Regions from separate parts of the Homo sapiens genome. Here all the other regions are linked to region 2. The links are contacts of gene promoters, found by promoter capture Hi-C in human tissues and cell types (Jung and others, 2019). All regions are on one chromosome and are shown on one strand. Each heading gives the region's core, a stretch centred on a gene start or on the middle of the fragment in contact. The rest is flanking DNA. Distances are from core to core; before and after follow the strand shown.

Region 1 (3,648 bases), core at 709-3,208, 440 kb after region 2:
TTTGTGCCTCCCAGCTCCATTTTTTGGGAGTTTGACATTAGTGACTCCATTTTGATACTGAAAACTTTCATTATTAAAATTAACGTTTTATAATTGGTTCTTCAGTCTCAGCAGCCACATTTCAGGTGTTCAGTAGTGACACCTGACTTGTGACTGCTGCATTGGACAGTGCAGATAGCATTTCTGGTTTTGCAGAAGATTCTGTTGGACAGTGCTGGTCTGAAGGGAACAAGAAGGGCAGCCCTGCTTCCTTCAGCACTTTACCCTCAGCTACAGTAGGGGCACAGAGTGTAAAGGGTGTGAAATGCCTGAGAGACAGTGAGGGGAATGTTCAGAGCCGCAAGTACCTGAATCTTGACTGAGATTCAGAAGTAACAGAAACCTAGAACAACAGTTAAGTTGAATCATAAAACTGTAAAATAAATTGTATCCAAAATATAGATTGTTACATGTGATTTTTAAATTAGTGTACAAATGTGTAAATACTGTTTGAGAGCAGATTGTTTTATATGCACATGCAGTCTGAAATGAAGTGCAGACCTTTATAATGCCTGACCGTTTTCATTCTAATAGCACACTAGCAACTTCAGACGTCAGCAGGCGGAAATGGCTGATTCCAGGTGCAGAGTATTCCATCTTTACTGGCCAGCCTCTGGACACCCAGGACAGTAACGTGGATAACCAGCTGGAGGAAACCTGTAGCCTAGGGTGAGATAACTTTGCTAAAGATTCTATTTAGGGATGTTATGTTTTCTTAGAGATTTCAATTGCTTTTAAAAGTTTGGGAAGCCCTCTCTTTGGTTCTTTAATGTCTTAATTTTGAGAACCTGACTTTTATTTTACTTTGAAAGGCTACTACTTTTAGAATATTTTACTTCCATGAGCTCTGCCAAGCTTCCCCACCTGTGCTCAGTGGCACAGTATGGGTTTGTGATTAGGATAGGATGTCGATCCTCAGGCCAGGTGTGGTGGCTCACGCCTGTAATCCCAACACTTTGGGAGGCCAACGTGGAGGATCGCTTGAGCCTAGGAGTTCGAGACCAGCTTGGGCAGCATGACAAAATCCCACCTCTACAAAAAATAAATATATTAGCCGGGCATGGTGACATGCGCCTGTAGTTTTAGCTACTTGGGAGGCTGAGGTGGGAGGATTACTTGAGCCTGGGGAGCTCAAGGCTACAGTGAGCTATGATTGTGCCACTGCACTCCAGCCTGGGTGACAGAGTGAGACCTTGTCTAAAAACAAACAAAAGATGTAGATCCTCTCCCACTTCAGATGGCTCTGGCCAGCCCGAGCCCCGAGCCTGCGTGAGCAGCCTCAGCCGCTTACTCCAGGGTGCTGTGCAGATGCTGTTCCTCTAAGTGTAGGACTAGAAGGATGGGAAAGCACTGTATGCAGGTTTAATTTATTTGCATTGCAAAGCATGCTCATTGTGGAGTATAATTGTCAACTCTGTTATTCCCCTAACAACCCCAGTAAAGTGTGTGTTTTAGCTTGGACTGTTATAACAAATTACCGTAGACTGGGTGGCATAAACAACACACATTTCTTTCTCTACCTCTGGAGGCTGGAAGTGCAAGATCAGGGTGCTGAGTGTTTGGTGAGGGCCCTCTTCCTGGTTATGTCCTCACATGGCCTTTCCTTGGTGTGTGTGCACAGAGAGAGCGCTCCTGCCTCTTTCCCTTTTTCATAAGGGCATTAATCCCATCTTGGAGGCTTCACCCTCATGACCTCATCCAACCCTAATTACCTCGTAAAGACCCCACCTCCACACACCATCACATTGAAGATTAGGGCTTCAACATGTATGTTTGGTGTGGGGGCGGGGGGCAAGATACAGACATTTAGTCCATAGCACTGTATGTCTTAAAATTATTGTTTAAGGCACCGTTCACCTCTGGAAAAGGATTCTTCACCTGGAAGTTCATCAACAAGCTTGTTGATAAAAAAGCAAAGAGAGACTTCAGACACGCCGATCATGAGAGCTTTAAAAGAACTTGATGAGGGAAAAATATTTAAAAATTGGGGGACACAGACAGAGAAAGAGGACACCTCAAATAGTGAGTATTTCCTTGTTTGAGATAGATGGATATAGATATCTTTTCCCCATTTATATTACCTTCGTTAAAATTAAAATATTTAGGTAATGAAATTAAAAGTTTTAGCTCTGTAAACTTGCTATTTTACTGCTACTTCAGCCCCGTTTCATAGAGAATTGAATGTCCTAGTTAATAATTTATCACAGTTCTGGCATAACATGTACCTTTTGTACAAAGCCAGTTGAATCTTACATTCCGATTATGAAAAAGGCTTACATGGCATTCTTTTTTTTTTTTTTTTTTTTTTGAGACAGTGAGACAGAGTCTCACTCTTTTGCCCAGGCTGGAGTGCAGTGCGTAATCTCAGCTCACTGCAAACTCCATCTCCAGGGTTCAAGCTATCATCCTGCCTCAGCCTCTCAAGTACCTAGAATTACAGGTGCCCTCCAGCACCCCCGGCTAATTTTAATATTTTTAACAGAGACGGAGTTTCACCATGTTGGCCAGGTTGGTCTCGAACTCCTGGCTTCAAGTGGTCCACCCGCCTTGTCCTCCACAACACAACACAAAGTGTAAACACAAAGTGTTGTGATTACAGGCGTGAACCACTGCTCCTGGCCTTACATGGCATTCCTAAGGATATTTGAAAAATTCCTGTCAGTCCATCTTACTTGCACACATCAGAAGGCTGTGATAGGCATTTGGTATTCATGAAGTGAGATATAACATTTCCTCTTCTTTCTTGGTTACTGAGCATCTGTAGATAAGGCAAGTAGTGTCTTTAATACTGTGTTTTTTCACAGGTCCAGGTCACCAATACATTTCTCTCCTTTTCCACTATGCTTGCTTTCTCAGACCCCTTAGTCATCCTGCCAGCGTCTTTGCGGTTACATCTCCCAAGCAGTGTCTCTTAGTAAATAAATTAGTAACCTGCTTTCTAAAAATAACCCTCTTGAAAATCACCTTGAATGCCGATTGTAAACAGGGAGCCAGAATGAATTCATTATAAACTCCCATATTTTTCTTCATCAAGCATTTTTTATCATTATAATGTGGTGCATTTGCAAATAGTCACTATAACCTAGCTGGTGAGAATAAATGCTTTGAGCAGAACCTAAGCTGTGGGGCTTGGTGTGTAACCATGTGTAACCACCTGTTAATAAAGGTGGATAACTGAAGCGTAGGCTTGTTTTGATTTGTTTTTTGTTTTGCTTTTTTTTGGTCTGCTGTAGTAAATCCTCGGCAAACTGAAACTTCAGTTAATGCAAGTCGTTCTCCAGAAAAGTGTGCCCAACAGAGACAAAAGAGACTTAATTCGGCCTCACAGAGATCATCATCTTTACCACCTTCAAATCGTAAATCAAGTACTCCAAGTAAGAGTTAGATGTGTACATCTCTTGGGTTCAAAAGCGTGATCTCTGAGTCAAATCTATTTGTGCCCGCTGCTTGCCTGTTTCTGGTTTCTCTTGTATCCTCAGCACCTAGTAGAGTACTCTGAGCAGAGGACCCCTAAATAAGATCTTGTTCATAAATAAAATTGTCTGATCACATAGATACTACAAATGTAAATGAAGAAATCTGTTTATTAAAGTGAGATTTTTTATTGTG
Region 2 (3,608 bases), core at 483-2,982:
ATTCCGTCTCAAAAAAGTTAAAAACAAACAAACAAACAAAAAACAAAAAAAAGAACTCTTGACTTTCCCTCTGAAACCTGATACGCACGCCAGTCATTCTTGGGAAATGGTAACACCATTCACTCAGCTACTAATAAAAATCAGCCGGGTGCGGTAGCTCAGCCTGTAATCCCAGCACTTTGGGAGGCCAAGGCGGGTGGATCAGGAGGTCAGGAGTTCAAGACCAACCTGGCCGAGATGGTGAAACCCCGTATCTACTAAAAATACAAAAAATTAGCCGGGCATGGTGGCAGGCACCTGTGATCTCAGCTACTTGGGAGGTTCAGGCAGAGAATTGCTTGAACCCAGGAGGCGGAGGTTGCAGTGAGCCGAGATCGCGCCACTGCACTCCAGCCTGGGCAACAGAGCGAGACTCCATCTCAAAAAAAAAAAAAAAAAGAATAAAAACCTCAGGTCCTGTAGTCTTTTCTTTCCTAACCTCCACTTCCAGTCCCTTAGCAACCTTAAAGCTATCCCAAATGTGACTTCTCAGTATCCACTGGTTCCACCCTACTCCAAGTCACCATCATCTCTTACCTGACAATGGCCTCCTAAGCGACCTGCCTGCTTCATCTCTTATGCCTGGAAAGGCCACTCTCTACAGAGAAATCACAGCCCTTCCCTTCCTAAACATCCTCCCAGATAAGATGGCTTCCCACTACATTTAGAATGAAATCCAAGCGCCTACAAGACCCTGCACAATCCATCTCTTACACTACTCTTGATGTTCAGCCACAAAGGCCTCCTTTCTGCTGCTCAAACTATTTGCAGCCTGCCGCAGGGCATTTATGTGCACTGGTATTTCTCTCCAGTGGAATAATCTCCCCCTAGTCACCTCAGAGCCAGCTCCTTCTCAATCACTGAGGTCTCAGCTCAATGCACCTCCTCAGAGAGGCCTTCCTTAACACCCTATCTCACCTCCTCTGCAGTCCTCGCGCGACACTATCACAACCGTCTTAGTTCTTTCATAACACTTACCAGCAGCTGAAATTATCCTTTCTCTAGCTCTTGCACTAGAAAGTAAGGCTATGAGCAGATGCCAATACTGCAAACTCCCCAGAGCCTAGAAGAGTTCCTGACACATAGCAGGTCCTCAAGAAATATTCTTGAAGAGATGCATAACAACGGTAACCCTTACTGAGCTCCCATAGTGTGCCGACTGGTTTATTTAGTCCCCACAGCAACCCCATAAGGAGGGTGTTATTTTTTCGTCATTTCACAGAGAAGGAAAATGAAGCACGGAGAGGTTAAGCCATTTGCCCGAGGTCTCACAGCTACAGCGAGCAGGGCCAGGATGAGAACCAGGCTTGAGACCACAGCACCCGAGGGCGGGGTGGGTCGCGGCCCCTCTGCCGGCTCGCTGGCCGGGCAGCTCCGCATTCCGCCAGTCTGGGCAGCTGGAGACAAGGCAAGAGCCCCAGCTGGAGGGATGAGCGCCCCAGGGCTCAGATCTGTCCGATCACCTCCTGTGGGTCCGATGCAGCGGGTGCCTGCCCCTCTCCCAGCCTCACTCCCCCACGCCAGGGAACCGATACCTGCACCGGCGTCATGTACGGGAAGCCCAGCTCCCGCAGCGCGCCCAGCACCTGCGGGTGCAGCGGCACAGGCAGCGACTCCCAGGAGCCCTCTGTCACATGCTCCATGGCGCGCTCCTTCGCCGCGTCGGTCGCCGCTGCTCGAACGCGCCTTGTGCACCCCCAACGAGCACTTCCGCTTCCCGCAGCTCCAGCGGCCGGCCGGGAACTTCGCTGGAGCAGCAGAGTTCCGGAGCGCGGCGAAGGCTCCCACGCCGCGGGAGGGAGGAAAGGCGTCCGCGGGACGGTGGAGGCAGGCGGCGGGGCAGGCCTGGGGAGTTACACCCGCTCCGCACAGCGCCCTGGGCTCCGGGCGCCTCTCCGCACCGGGCAGGAGTTTTGGCGGGAGGGATTCTGGCCCGGCCCTCCCACTTTCTCTGCCCCTCGGAGGCAGGTGGCAGCACAGGACCGCGTCCAGGCCGAAGGACAGCGGGGCTGGCTACCGTGGGCAGAGAAACGTGTCGGGGACCCGGGTTAGCAGCCCTGCAAAACAGGCACCCGCTGATGGCCGGTACGTCCTGAATGTTGCGGTCCGATGGCCGGTACGTCCTGAATGTTGGTTTACTTTCCCGGAAGTTAGGGTCAGAGTCCTAACTAAGAACACTGTCCCATTCCTCTGTTCACTGTTTGCCTGGGCCATTCATGTCCACATACAACTTCACTCAGAAAGCTGTTTTTGTTGTTGTTGTTGTTGTTGTTGTTGTTTGAGACGGAGTCTCGCTCTGTTGCCCAGGCTGGAGGCTGGGCGCTATAACGGTTCACTGCAAGCTCCGCCTCCCGGGTTCACGCCCTTCTCCTGCCTCAGCCTCCCGAGTACCTGGGACTGCAGGCGCCCTCCACCACGCCCGGCTAATTTTTTGTATTTTTAGTAGAGACGGGGTTTCACCGTGTTAGCCAGGATGGTCTCGATTTCCTGACCTCGTGATCCGCCCGCCTCGGCCTCCCAAAGTGCTGGGATTACAGGCGTGAGCCACCGCGCCCGGCCTTCACTCAGCAAACTTTTATTGACCACTCATTATGTGCCCTCTATGAGGGCCTATCTCCTCCACCTATGTGCATGGCTTGCTCCTGTTGAGGCTCTGAAAACGAAACCCCAAAATGAAGGCCCCAGAGGCAGCCTCAGAAGCAAGTTTCTCTCTGACCTTCTGCTCCCTCTCTGATCTCTGATTCTCTGAGGCTAGCCATAGAAACTCAAGAATCCCTCTTGCCCATGACGGAGCATAGAAACAGGAATCCCTTTTCTCCACAGTCAGCCATAAAACCTAAAAATATTACTCTCTCTCCACCTTTCTGTGAAAAAACTGGCCATAAAGAAATTATTGGCCTGGCACGGTGGCTCACGCCTGTAATCTCACCACTTTGGGAGGCCAAAGCGGGCAGATCTCAAGGTCAGGAGTTCGAGACCAGCCTGGCCAATATGGTGAAACCCCGTCTCTACTAAAAATACAGAAATTAGCCAGGCGTGGTGGCGCATGCCTGTAGTCCCAGCTACTCAGGAGCCTGAGGCAGAAGAATCGCTTGAACCAGGGAGGTGGAGGTTGCGCCACTGCACTCCAGCGTGGGTGACAAAGCGAGACTCAGTCTCAAAAAAAAAAAGAAAAAGAAATTATCTGGGCTAGGTGCGGTGGCTCATGCCTGTAATCCCAGCACTTTGGGAGGCTGAGGCAGGCGGATCACCTAAGGTAAGGAGTTTGAGACCAGCCTGGCCAACGTAGTGAAACCCTGTCTACTAAAAATACAAAAAATTAGCCAGGTGTGGTGGCAGGTGCCTGCAGCTACTCCGGAGGCTGAGCTACAAGCATCGCTTGAACCTGAGAAGTGGAGGCTGCAGTAATCCTAGATCGCACCATTGCATTCCAGCCTGGGCGACAGAGTGAGACTCAGTCTCAAAAAACAAACAAACAAACAAACAAACAAACAAAAAAAGGCCAGACGTGGTGGCTCACACCTGTAATCCTAGCACTTTTGGAGGCCAAGGCGGGCAGATTGCCTGAG
Region 3 (3,649 bases), core at 599-3,098, 460 kb after region 2:
TTGTGGTGTTTGGTTTTCTGTTCTTTCATTAGTTTGCTAAGAATAATGGCCTCCAGTTTCATCCATGTTCCTGCAAAGGACATGATCTCATTCTTTTTTATGACTGTATAGTATTCTATACTATGTGTATATATACCACATTTTCTTTTCCAGTCTACCATTGATGGGGCATTTAGGTTGATTCCATGTCTTTGCTATTGTGAATAGTGCTGCAATGAACATACGTGTGCCTGTATCTTTATGATAGAACGATATTTTTAGTAGAGACGACGTCTTGCTATGTTGCCCAGACTGGTCTGGAACTCCCAGGTTCAAGCAGTCCTCTTGAGGTGTGAGCCATTGTGGCTGGCCAAATTACTTATATTAACAACTGCCCTTGCTAGAGGACACAAAGGAGATTAACCAACAGGCAGGTTTCCGGTAACAGACAAATCAAAAACCCAAGACAACCTTGGAGAGAGAGCATGGAAAAATCAGTTTCACACTCTCCTTGTTGAAGTTCCCCATTCTTCATAAAGCTTTTCCTTGAGTGCCATTGCCTCTGAAGTCCCTTATCTCTATTGTGGAAAGGGGTCTTATTAAGACCTGGCTAGTCAGAAAGATCAGAGGTCATGATCAGGGACGTCAGCGGGAGTCATGGGTCCAGGGAAAAGGCAGAGTGTTATCAGAGCAGCAGCAGGACCCAAGAGACCTCAAGGCTGATTCCAGCCTTGGAGCAGAAGCTGACAGCTCAAACTCCCTATTGGGTGTGGACATGCCAACCTGCAGCCTTAGGAGCACATGAATGTAGGGTGGAATAGCTCTGTCTGAGGAAAGTATATCCTGACTATGCATACATGTATGCATAGTTATTTGATTCATATTGTTGGCCATAGTTAGGTTCTTCTTTTTTTATTTTTTGTGACAGGGTCTCTCTCTGTCTCCCAGGCTGGAGTGCAGTGGTGCAATCATTGCTCACTGCAGCTTCAAACTCCTGGGCCCAATGATCCTCCTGCCTCAGCCTCCTGAGTAGCTGGGACTACAGACTTGTGCACCACGCTGGCTAACATAGTTATGTTCTATAAAGTCCCTCTTCAAACACTGAGTTAGTGAACACTGAACCACTGCTCCTAGGGAAAACACAGGGTTAGGCTCCTTTGAGCCTGCGGGGACAATATTTTCTTTAACCAATCCATATGTAATCTTATTTTATATATGTTTCTGTTAAAAGAGATCGGGCATGGTGGCTCATGCCTATAATCCCAGCACTTTGGGAGGCCGAGGCGGGTGGATTACCTGAGGTCAGGAGTTCGAGACCAGACTGGCCAACATGGTGAAACCCTGTGTCTACTAAAAATACAAAAATTGGCTGGGCACAGTGGCTCATGCCTGTAATCCTAGCACTTTGGGAGGCCGAGGTGGGCAGATAATGAGGTCAAGAGATCGAGACCATCCTGGCCAACATGGTGAAACCCCATCTCTACTAAAAATACAAAAATTAGCTGGGTTTGGTGGTGTCCATCTGTAATCCCAGCTACTCAGGAGGCTAAGGCAGGAGAATTGCTTGAACCCAGGAGGTGGAGGTTGCAGTGAGCCGAGATCGTGCCCCTGCACTCTGGCCTGGCGACAGAGTGAGACTCTGTCTCAAAACAACAACAAAAAAGACACCCTATTTAATATGTATCATTGATTCATTAACATTAAACTCCTGGCCATCAACACTGTGACTCATGTCTGAATGAAGCTTCTCTAACACAAGAGATTTTCTCTGCACATCATAATCATCTTGCACCCAAGAACTAGACTGCACCTCAGCACTGTGATTGGGGGCCATTCCAAACAGCAAAATCACCAACACAAAGCACACAAGTGCCAAAAATGTGGCACTGCACAGACCACAAAAAGGACACGTGTTTCCATTAGGAGAGCTGAGATGGGAAGATAGAGGATGTCCCCTCGTTCAACCTCAGCAGGGAATGTGCCATCAGGCAACTCAAATTTTTTGCCAATTTGCACAAATTTGAAAATGAATTTGAAAGCACCATGAGCATTGATTTTGGGGTTACAGATAAATTTTAGTGACTAGGGTAATTCACAAATATGGAATCCATGGATAGTGAGGATCTGCCACCTTTGGCATCATGTCAGCCCCCACGGTGTATCCAGCCTAGCTCAGGGCACCTCACAATGCTGATGGTACTTAATGGATGAAGACTGGAGCTGCGGGATGAGGCTGTGGGCAGATTCTTGTGTTTGCTTGTCTTAGGTGCTACAGAAAGACAAGCTGTCCTCCCTCAGCCCTGCTGTAGCTTCTTCTAGAAGGGCTGCTGCCAGCAGAATGGTGCCCATCTCTCTCTGCTCAAGTCTACAGGTAGGAGGGACCCTGTACTTTCATGCAGTGGGTTCTGGCGGCAGCCCTGCAATAGACTTGGCCTTTCTTAGGAGCTGAGACCAATCCTTCTCCCAAAGGAATAATCCTCTTACGGAGGTGTTTCAGGCCAAGATGGGGGGTTCCTGGGGCCCCCATGCCTCAAATTGTGGCCTTCTTATGCCTGGGCTCTCTCAGAGGAAGCTTTCCCAAGTCTTTTGCCTGTTGTGTGCCCTCTTAAGAGTTCGTACGTACGTCATACGGATTATTACTGTTTCTCCTCTGCAGAGCTGTTTATTTCCCCTTTTGAGAGGTGGCTCCTGGGGAGGGCCTGAATTTTCTCTTTTGGCAGCTGGGGGGCTTCCCTTCCAAGTCTGACTCACAGGCTGTGCTGTGGAGCAGGGCTGTGCACTTTGCTTCTGTTGTCCTCCTGGGATTAGAATCAGGCCCTTGGGCTTCCCAGCCCCCTAGGGAGGGCTCACTGGGCACCAGTGTCCTGCATGAGGTGGTGAGCCAGTGGGAGAGCTTGTTATGGGTGCTGCTGGCTCCACCCTCTGCTGTCTCTCTAGACAGCCCCTTGGAGGGAGGGATCGAGGGAGGGGGGAGGGGGATAGGGATGGGTGTGTCAGGGTAGAAATAGGTGGCTATTCCCAGCTTTCATCAGTGGCGTGAGGTTGTCTGAGAGGCAGGGCTTCCCCACAGGTGTGGATGCGTGCTTAACACTGGCTTGGCGACGGTGCTCTGGAGAACAGGAGGACATTCTTCCTCTCACACTGAAGGGCCCATTTAAGTGCTTTCCTTGGTACTTTATAACAGTTGACTTTTCACTTGCTTTTTTTTTTTTTTCATAAGAGGGAGAAAAACTCAACATTTTTTGCAATTAGAATTTTTCCCATGTGGGTAATCACACTGGAAAAAAGCATTTAAATCCTTTGAAAACCACACATAAGTGAGGCTCACGGAGCAGGGGGAACATTCAATCAGCAGGGGTGGCCAGACGTGGAGGCACTTCAGCGGGTTATCGTGTAAGGAAACAATTATTTTACATTTATTTTGGGTTTGCTTGTTGCAGCATATTTCAATTAGTTCATCAGTGTTGTGCATCTGACAGGCCAAACGTTTATTGTGGTTGAACCATCTGGGAGGTGGGAGGCCTGCAGCCTTCCCCATGGCAGTCAGGAACTACTAGTTTAAAGGAAATTTGTTTGATGTGTTTAAGAACCCAACACTAAAACACCATTAATAACAAAATCCTCAAGAATTCTGAAAGCACTCTCACCTATTTCGCCATCAGTTGGGCAT
Region 4 (4,084 bases), core at 124-2,623, 380 kb before region 2:
ATTGCCCAAGTCAATATCATTGACTTCCCCCCATCACAAAGGTCTAGCCACTCTCTTCCAAATACCTCTGGAAACTCTCCACTGTGTACCTGCATTGTCTCAACTTAACTCAAGCCACCATCATCTTCCCTGGAATTCTACAAAAGCCTCCAGTCTTGCTTCCCTCTAATCCATTATCTACTCTAATGTAACCTTCTAAAATGCAAAATGGATTGTTCTTACCCTACTCACAAGTTTTCAATGGGTCCCAATCATTTTCAGTGTAAATTCCAAATTTATTCATTGGCTTTAACCAAAAAAAAAAGTGCTCATGTCTATTTGCCATGTAGCTATCATGTCCCAGATATACTTTGTTAAATCAAATGTTCCATCATACATGTAATACAGGTACATGTAATCTTGGCAAATACAAAAAAGATTATTTAAATCACCCGACATCCTACCGAATTCCACAATTCTTAAGATTTCCATCTAATTTCTTCTACATATTTTTGCCATTCATAGGTTTTACTGGAAGGCTGCTGGGACTTTTTTTGGGGCGTTTTCATCATATCAGGTATACAATTGTGTATCCTGATTTCCTTCCACTTAACACTATCATAAGCATTTTAATATATTTTCTTCATAAACGTTTTTAATGGCAATGTTATTTGCCACTAAATATATGATATAGGGGATGTATCATAACCATTCTGCAAACTGTGCCCATAAATATAATTCTACAATATACATATTTTGTGCAGAAAGCTTTTCTCTGTATTTAAAAATATTCTTTTGATGGTTCCTAGACCATCAAGAAATGTAAATAATTTTAAGACTCTTGACACATATGGCCAATGTAACATAAGAGTGTGTCATTTTTACCACATCCTTTTAGGTACTAGGCACTGTATATTTTTGTCTAAATCTAGACCTTCATGAAATTGGTGAGAAATTGTAACATCTTCCTTACAAAAGTAAATGCCCATTGTAAAAAAAACTGAAGCAATGCAAACACATGTGATATGAAAAACCAGTCTCCCCTAGGCTTTTCCCATGAAGTAATCAGAATTAAATGTTTTCAGGTATTCTAGTCTTTTTCTAATTCTTATTCAGAATATATATATATACACACACTCACCCTTCATTATTTTGTTTTGTATCTTACAAAAAATGAGATTAAGCTTGCTTTTTTGGCTCAACAGTATATTCTAGACATCCATACAGGCTATGTCAGTACATACAAATCTACCTCTCTATATAAAAAACTAATAGGCTAGACATGGTGGCTCATGCCTGTAATCCCAACACTTTGGGAGGCCAAGGCGGGAGGATCACTTGAGGCCAGGAGTTCAAGACTGGCCTGGGTAACGTGGTGAGACTCCGTCTCTACAAAAAAAATTTAAAAATCAGCCAGGTGTAGTGGTGTGTGTGTGTGTGTGTGGTCCCAGCTACTTGAGAGGCTGAGGCAGATCACTTGAGCCCAGGAGGCTGAGGCTACACTGAACCACATTCCGTACCACTGCACTCCAGCCTAGGCAACAGAGCAAGACCCTGTCTCAAAACAAAACAAACAAAAAATCCCACAAAAAACAAAACGCTACTTGATATTCCACAGTATATGGGTACCAAAATTTATTGTGATTATCTTCAATTTTTCATTATAAATGACGCTGCAATAGACATTGTTTATATTAACGTATGTTCTCCTATGAAAATAGCACAGATTCCTTGAAGTGTAGCTGCTAAATCAACGTGTACTTTTATTTTGATAAAATTCTGCCAAAATTGCCATCTAAAAACTTGGAAAAATTTTATGTCCCAACAATGTATTAGGTGCCTCTTTTACATCGCTGGATAGTTTTTAATTTTTGCCTGATGCCCTCCTCCCAACAAAAAAATCTAGTTTTTAAATTTCCATTCTCTTAATCACAATGAGGTTGAATTTCTCTTCACTGTTTGAACACATTTATCTAAGAACTATTCATATCCTCAATTCATTACCTAATTTGTTAATTCTATTTATTCTTTATACATGCTACAGGTTGTTTTCCCAGTCTGTCACTCTGTAACGCTTTTTGTCACAGAATTATCAACTGTGATTATAGTCAAATTTATCAATCCTTTCATTTATGATTTTAGGTCTTGGTCTTACCTAAATGGCCTACCTAAAACACATCATTTCCAGTGTATCCTTCTACATAACAAATTCTCTTATATTTCCTTCTAATGCTTTTATAGGTTTTTTTAGTTAGTTCCTTAATCCATCTAAGTTATTTTGAATGTGAAGTAGGATCTTTCTTTCTAAATAAAGAGCCACTTATCCCTATACAACACACTGAATTATAATTTCCCAACTGTTGCAAAACACCAACTTTATCATATACTAAATTCTGATATAAAAATGGGTCTGTTACTGGATTCTACTTTGCTCCAGGCGTCAATCTGTCTATTCTTGTGTTCACCATTTATATTACTGCAGCATTTCAGTATGCTTTGACTTCTCATATAGCAAATCCCCCAACACTACTTTTCCATTAAAAACGTTTGTCATTTTTTGGCCATTCTAGGACATTTACTCCTATAAAAGAGTTTTAGAAGCAATTTATCTAGTGTCCAGAAGAATTCCCACTGGGATTTCAATTGTAATTACATTGAAATCATAGTTTAATTTGGAGGTACTGCAATCTACAATGATGCCTTCCCCTCCAGGAACAAGTCTGCCCATTTATTTAGGTTAGCTTTTAAATCATTTAGGTAAAAGTTTTTACTTCTCTTCATAAAGCTTTGGTACATTTATGTCTTACTTGTAAATGTTTTCTAGTTTTGCTGCTATTCAGAACAGAATCTAACTTTTCTATACGGTAATTAGTGATTTGATTATTAATGAATTACACAGCTTTTCCAATGTTTCACAAGTTATATTTCTATCCAGCGAACTGTCTATTCACATCCTATAACCACCTGTGTGTGGATCTTCATTATTTTCTTCACCAATTTGGATGAGTTCTTTGCATATTGAAAATACTAACTCTTAGCTTATCATTTGCCACAAATATTTTCCACTTTATGATTCGGGTTTTTTTTTTCCCTTCTCTTCCTAAAGAATAAATTTTTATGTAGTCTAATACACTAATTTTTAATTATTATTTTCTCTATTGTTTCTAATAGCAGCAGCTACTTACAGATTTGAGTGCCCTGTAGGTGCCTGGCCCTTTATCTCTTACTCTCATAACACCTGCAAAGTGGGGATAATTTTCCTCACTTAAAAGATTCCAGTTTAGACACATCTGAGTCTAAAGCATGTGCTCCATCCACCTTAGCATGTAAAACTCCTCTTTCCAGATGTTTAATATTTACTTACATTTTCTTTAGACTCAGGGGGCATTTGTGATGATTTCATTATTATTTATGACATTTCCATATAAAAAAGTTTATTTCTGGGGTGCTGAATAAGTTCCATTGACCTGTATGGATATTTTACAGCCAGAACGATACTGTTTTAATGAATGTGGCTCTATAATATGTTTAAATATATTTGTCTCACCTCATTACTCATAAGTATTCTACCACGTTCACCCCAAAATGAGCATCTCCATAACATGCAGACATCACAGCCCGGAAGATGGCCTCTCTTTCCGTTCAAGGTACCCCTTCAGACCTTTCAGGATACTTTATGGTCTCCTCCACAGAGTGCACACTTGACTCTATAAGGTTGTGCCTACACGGTTCACTTGTTTTGCTGCAACCTGGTCAGAGCCAGTTTCTTGTTTAGGGTTTTTTTTTTTTTTTTTTGGCCATTTTAGGTTCTAGTAGGTTATTTCTGGTATTCAGAAAGCTATTAATTTTATACATATACTAATACATGGTCACTCCATCAATTTTTTTGTCTAATAATTTTTGTTATTGTTTTCATAGTCAATAGCATCTACAAATATTTCCCTTCATTTTAGAGCCTCACTTCACTCCTATCTCACATATTACCGCTTTGTCAAAACATACAAACCTTGTTAAATAATGTCCCAATTTTTAATTTGACTCTCTGATACTTTTAAGTATAGACAACTAGTTTAACATTTATGTGTACTTTTTGCATACCAAGTAC
Region 5 (3,562 bases), core at 633-3,132, 340 kb after region 2:
CTATGTTGCCTAGGCTGGATCCTGGGCTCAAGTGATCCTTCCACCTTAGCCTCTCAAAGTACTGGGATTATAGGTGTGAGCTACCACGCCTGGTGTAAAGAAGTGCTATTTTAAATAATCTCTCATGAAAGTGTTTGAAATGCTTGTTCCCCGGTGCCGTGAAGAAATAGCACTTGAACATAAATTTAATTTACTCAGCAAGGCCATTTTTACTTCCCGCAGAAAGGGTACATTCGCCAGCAGTTTTGCCACGAGAGTACACCGAACAAAGAGACAGGGTCATTTGTAACCTGATGCGTCCACCCTACTGCTGTGTCCGGTTTCCATTGGCTGGAACGGGACCTCATATTCTGTATTTGTCCTGATTGGGAAGCAACTTAAAACTTTTTAAAAGAGGCGAAGGCAGAAGAGAACAAAGGAAGGAGAAAGTAACTTGTGGAATGGTGAGAAAGGTAAACACTTTTAAATAAGGAAGAGGAACAGGCTATGACCTAATGCTTGCTCCGACCAGTGTAAGCATGCCAGGACAAATATTTAGGCTAAATTGTGGGAGCTAAGAACATAAAGTACATTGATTTCTTTACCACGGCTAGCAGATAATTAGGAATGTTAGCACAGGTCTTTGAATAAATTTTGCTTCGAAGAGAAGTTACCGTTTATTCCAAATTAAATGGGGAGGAAAGTCTTTGGAGAGGAACCTCTACTTTACCTTTTACAAGAGGTAGGAGATGCCTGTTCAAACTGTATTTTCCCATCTGACACGGAAACATTTTGGTGATATCATTAGCACAGTTGGCTGGGGAAAGAATGTGTTTGCTAAGTCAGAGGTAGGGATAAAGTGAAGTTGCATTATGGGTGTATTTTAAGTGCAGCAAACTTAAGTGTATGCTAGGAAAAAAAAATAGCAGCAGCAGTTTTTAAAAAAAAAATTTTTTTTTTTTTAGATGGAATCTCCCTCTGTTGCCTAGGCTAGAGTGCAGTGGCTTGATGTTGGTTCACTGCAATCTCTGCCTCCCAGGTTCAAGCGATTTTCCCAGCTTAGCCTCCCGAGTAGCTGGATTACAGGAGCGTGCCACCACACCCAGCTAATTTTTGTATTTTTAGTAGAGATGGGATTTTACCATGTTGGTCAGGCTGGTCTCCAACTTCTGACCTCAGGTGACCCAGCCGCCTTGGCCTCCCAAAGTGCTGGGTTTACAGGCGTGAGCCACCACGCCCGGCCAGAAGCAGTATTATTGAGTTGGCCTGTTACCCCATGGTTAGGCCATTCTCAGTTCGTAGGTGCTTATCCTGTGGGCTTTTGGTGGGTGCTACAGGAATCTTTTTCATAAAGTACGGCTCCTAACTTCAAGCTACTTCATATGGTGCTCACTGGAAGAATTATCTGCTCTGGTGCCAGGGAAAAAATGGGCTGCACTGGATGTGTTGAGAGTCCACGTGGTGGTCTCTGACAGTGCCTCCCAAAGGGATTTTAATTCTTACTCTATACCTTAGGCCCTAAATACCTGCAATGAGAATTTGCTTTGCTGAGCAGTAGACAAAGACAAATGAGAGAGACTTGTCTTTCTTTGATGCAGGCATGAGGCGAATTCTCAGCCATGACAAGGCTGAAGGCCAGCAGGAACAGGCTCTAGCGAAATGGGTGCTGTGTCCCCTTCCTGCATGTGGCAGAAAGTTGCAAAGGTATGAGAGAGGAGACAAACGGAAACCATTCTCCCTTATCTCCAGCTCCAAATTTCCCCTCCCACTCTTACTGGTTTCTTAGGTGTTGTTCTAGAGCCTTTATTTTCTACAGGGCGTTTGGGCTGGGGAAGGGTCCTGTACACTCGCAACAGGAGGTGTAGAATGAGCCCTGCATTGAATGTGTAAGCATCCAAAGCTGTCACTGAGGTGAGAAGAGCCTTCATTGGCAGCCTCAAAGAGAAAGGTGTGCTTGGATGTATGCACTGGACATGCCACCTAGGCCTACTGGACATGCCGCCTAGGCCTGCTGGACAGACTGCACAACTGAGGCCCTGCAACTGGCAATCTCCCAATGGCTTTCTCACCTCTCAGCATTTTTCCCTATTTGTTTTCTACGTGGACTCCAGAAGAGTTCTAACAAGCCAAGCTATAAAGCATGGCTTTAAAAGAAAAACAACTGTAAGGTAAAATCCAGCTTAAGTGACGTAAATTTACAAGCAAATCAGATTCTGGAACCTCACCTTTACAAATCTTGCAAATCAACGTGCAGGGAATGTGTTTGTTTCTACATCAGAGGCACAACTGGGCATCATACAGCCTAGAAGCTAATAGAGCACATGGACAAGGAACAGAGCCTTTAGCTCTTCCAACCCTCTTATTTTCTCTCTTTTTTTTTTTTTTTTTAGACAGTCTTGCTCTGTTGCTCACGCTGGAGTGCAATGGCGCAATCTTGGCTCACTGCAACCTCGCCTCCCAGATTCAAGCAATTCTCTTGCCTCAGCCTCCCAAGTAGCTGGGATTACAAGCGTGTGCTGCCACGCCTGGCTAATTTTTGTATTTTTAGTAGAGATGGGGTTTCACCATGTTGGTCAGGCTGGTCTCAAACTCCTGACTTCCATGATCCGCCTGCCCCAGCCTCCCAAAGTGCTGGGATTACAGGCGTGAGCCACCATGCCCGGCCCTTGTTTTCTCTTACTGTCTTGAGCTGACATGGGGATAACTGACTTTTAAGTGTCACTGGGCAGCAGCTTCCCAGCAGATGGCAAGTTGCCAAGAAATGCTATTAATGTTTGACTCCATTCTCCAGTTCTCCATAAAAATTGACTTTACTAATTACAAAAAAAATTTTATTATTACAAAACATACAATCTCACAAAGGTACAATTTGAAATACGGGGACACCCTTCTAACTACCACCCAGGTGAAGAAACAGAACTTTGTCAGGCACCCCAGAACCCCTCCAAGTGCCTCATCACAATGACAACTCCTTCCCTCTAGAAGTAGCCATTATTCTTGTATAGTACTGACTGTGTTTCTTTATGGTTTTATCTTATTTTTTAGAGACAGGGTCTTGTTCTGTCACACAAGAACAAGTGGACAGGTGGAGTGCAGTGGTGTTCATAGCTCACTGCAATCTTGAGCTCCTGGGCTCAGGTGATCTTCCTGTCTTAGCCTCCCAAGGTGCTGGGATTATAGGCGTGTGTCATTGCACTTGAACTAGTTTTATTTTTTTTTTGAGATGGGGTCTCGCTCTGTCACCCAGGTGTTGCCCAGGCTTGAGTGCAGTGGCGCGATCTCAGCTCACTGCAACCTCCGCCTCCCAGGTTCACGCAATTCTCCTGCCTCGGCCTCCCGAGTAGCTGGGATTACAGGTGCCCGCCACCATGCCTGGCTAATTTTTTGTATTTTTAGTAGAGACGGGGTTTCACCATGTTGGCCAGGCTGGTCTCAAACTCCTGACCTCAAGTGATCCGCCCGCCTCGGCCTCCCAAAGTGCTGGGATTACAGATGTGAGGCACCGTCCACCGTGCCCAGCCGAGTTTTATTCTTGAATCGTGCATGTCTCTGTTCACTACAGTTTAGTGCACCATTTAAATAA

What was found. The method cuts DNA at HindIII sites, captures the fragments that hold promoters and counts their contacts. A contact is called where the count stands out against the background at its distance.
Region 1: a contact is called between a fragment that was not itself captured here and the fragment with the promoter of DDX55 in region 2, in 2 of the 25 tissues and cell types used here (adrenal gland and heart right ventricle).
Region 3: a fragment that was not itself captured here is called in contact with the fragment with the promoter of DDX55 in region 2 in 3 of the 25 tissues and cell types used here (dorsolateral prefrontal cortex, hippocampus and lymphoblastoid cells).
Region 4: a contact is called between a fragment that was not itself captured here and the fragment with the promoter of DDX55 in region 2, in 1 of the 25 tissues and cell types used here (dorsolateral prefrontal cortex).
Region 5: a fragment that was not itself captured here is called in contact with the fragment with the promoter of DDX55 in region 2 in 6 of the 25 tissues and cell types used here (aorta, bladder, dorsolateral prefrontal cortex and 3 more).

Annotation. Positions count from the first base shown.
Region 1 is chr12:123,163,715-123,167,362 of GRCh38, reverse strand. It overlaps MPHOSPH9 (M-phase phosphoprotein 9), which reads left to right. Exons shown (of 24, transcript NM_022782.4): 17 at 574-708; 18 at 1,886-2,061; 19 at 3,273-3,413. Among named protein-coding and RNA genes, the nearest start is that of PITPNM2, 14 kb to the right of the region's middle. The HindIII fragment of the contact is 3,703 bases long and covers 107-3,648 here.
Region 2 is chr12:123,600,223-123,603,830 of GRCh38, reverse strand. DDX55 (DEAD-box helicase 55) reads right to left here and starts at 1,732. Exons shown (of 14, transcript NM_020936.3): 1 at 1,575-1,732. The coding sequence starts at 1,682. RefSeq lists an enhancer at 971-1,020 and a silencer at 1,261-1,370. The HindIII fragment of the contact is 15,410 bases long and covers 1-3,608 here.
Region 3 is chr12:123,142,427-123,146,075 of GRCh38, reverse strand. The region is part of intron 1 of PITPNM2 (phosphatidylinositol transfer protein membrane associated 2); the gene reads left to right. Among named protein-coding and RNA genes, the nearest start is that of PITPNM2, 6.8 kb to the left of the region's middle. The HindIII fragment of the contact is 5,243 bases long and covers 1-3,649 here.
Region 4 is chr12:123,977,153-123,981,236 of GRCh38, reverse strand. All of the region lies in intron 2 of ZNF664-RFLNA (ZNF664-RFLNA readthrough), which reads right to left. All of the region lies in intron 2 of ZNF664 (zinc finger protein 664), which reads right to left. Among named protein-coding and RNA genes, the nearest start is that of ZNF664-RFLNA, 6.0 kb to the right of the region's middle. The HindIII fragment of the contact is 4,848 bases long and covers 1-3,797 here.
Region 5 is chr12:123,257,164-123,260,725 of GRCh38, reverse strand. It overlaps MTRFR (mitochondrial translation release factor in rescue), which reads right to left. Exons shown (of 3, transcript NM_152269.5): 3 at 2,766-3,562. Among named protein-coding and RNA genes, the nearest start is that of CDK2AP1, 13 kb to the left of the region's middle. The HindIII fragment of the contact is 6,691 bases long and covers 1-3,562 here.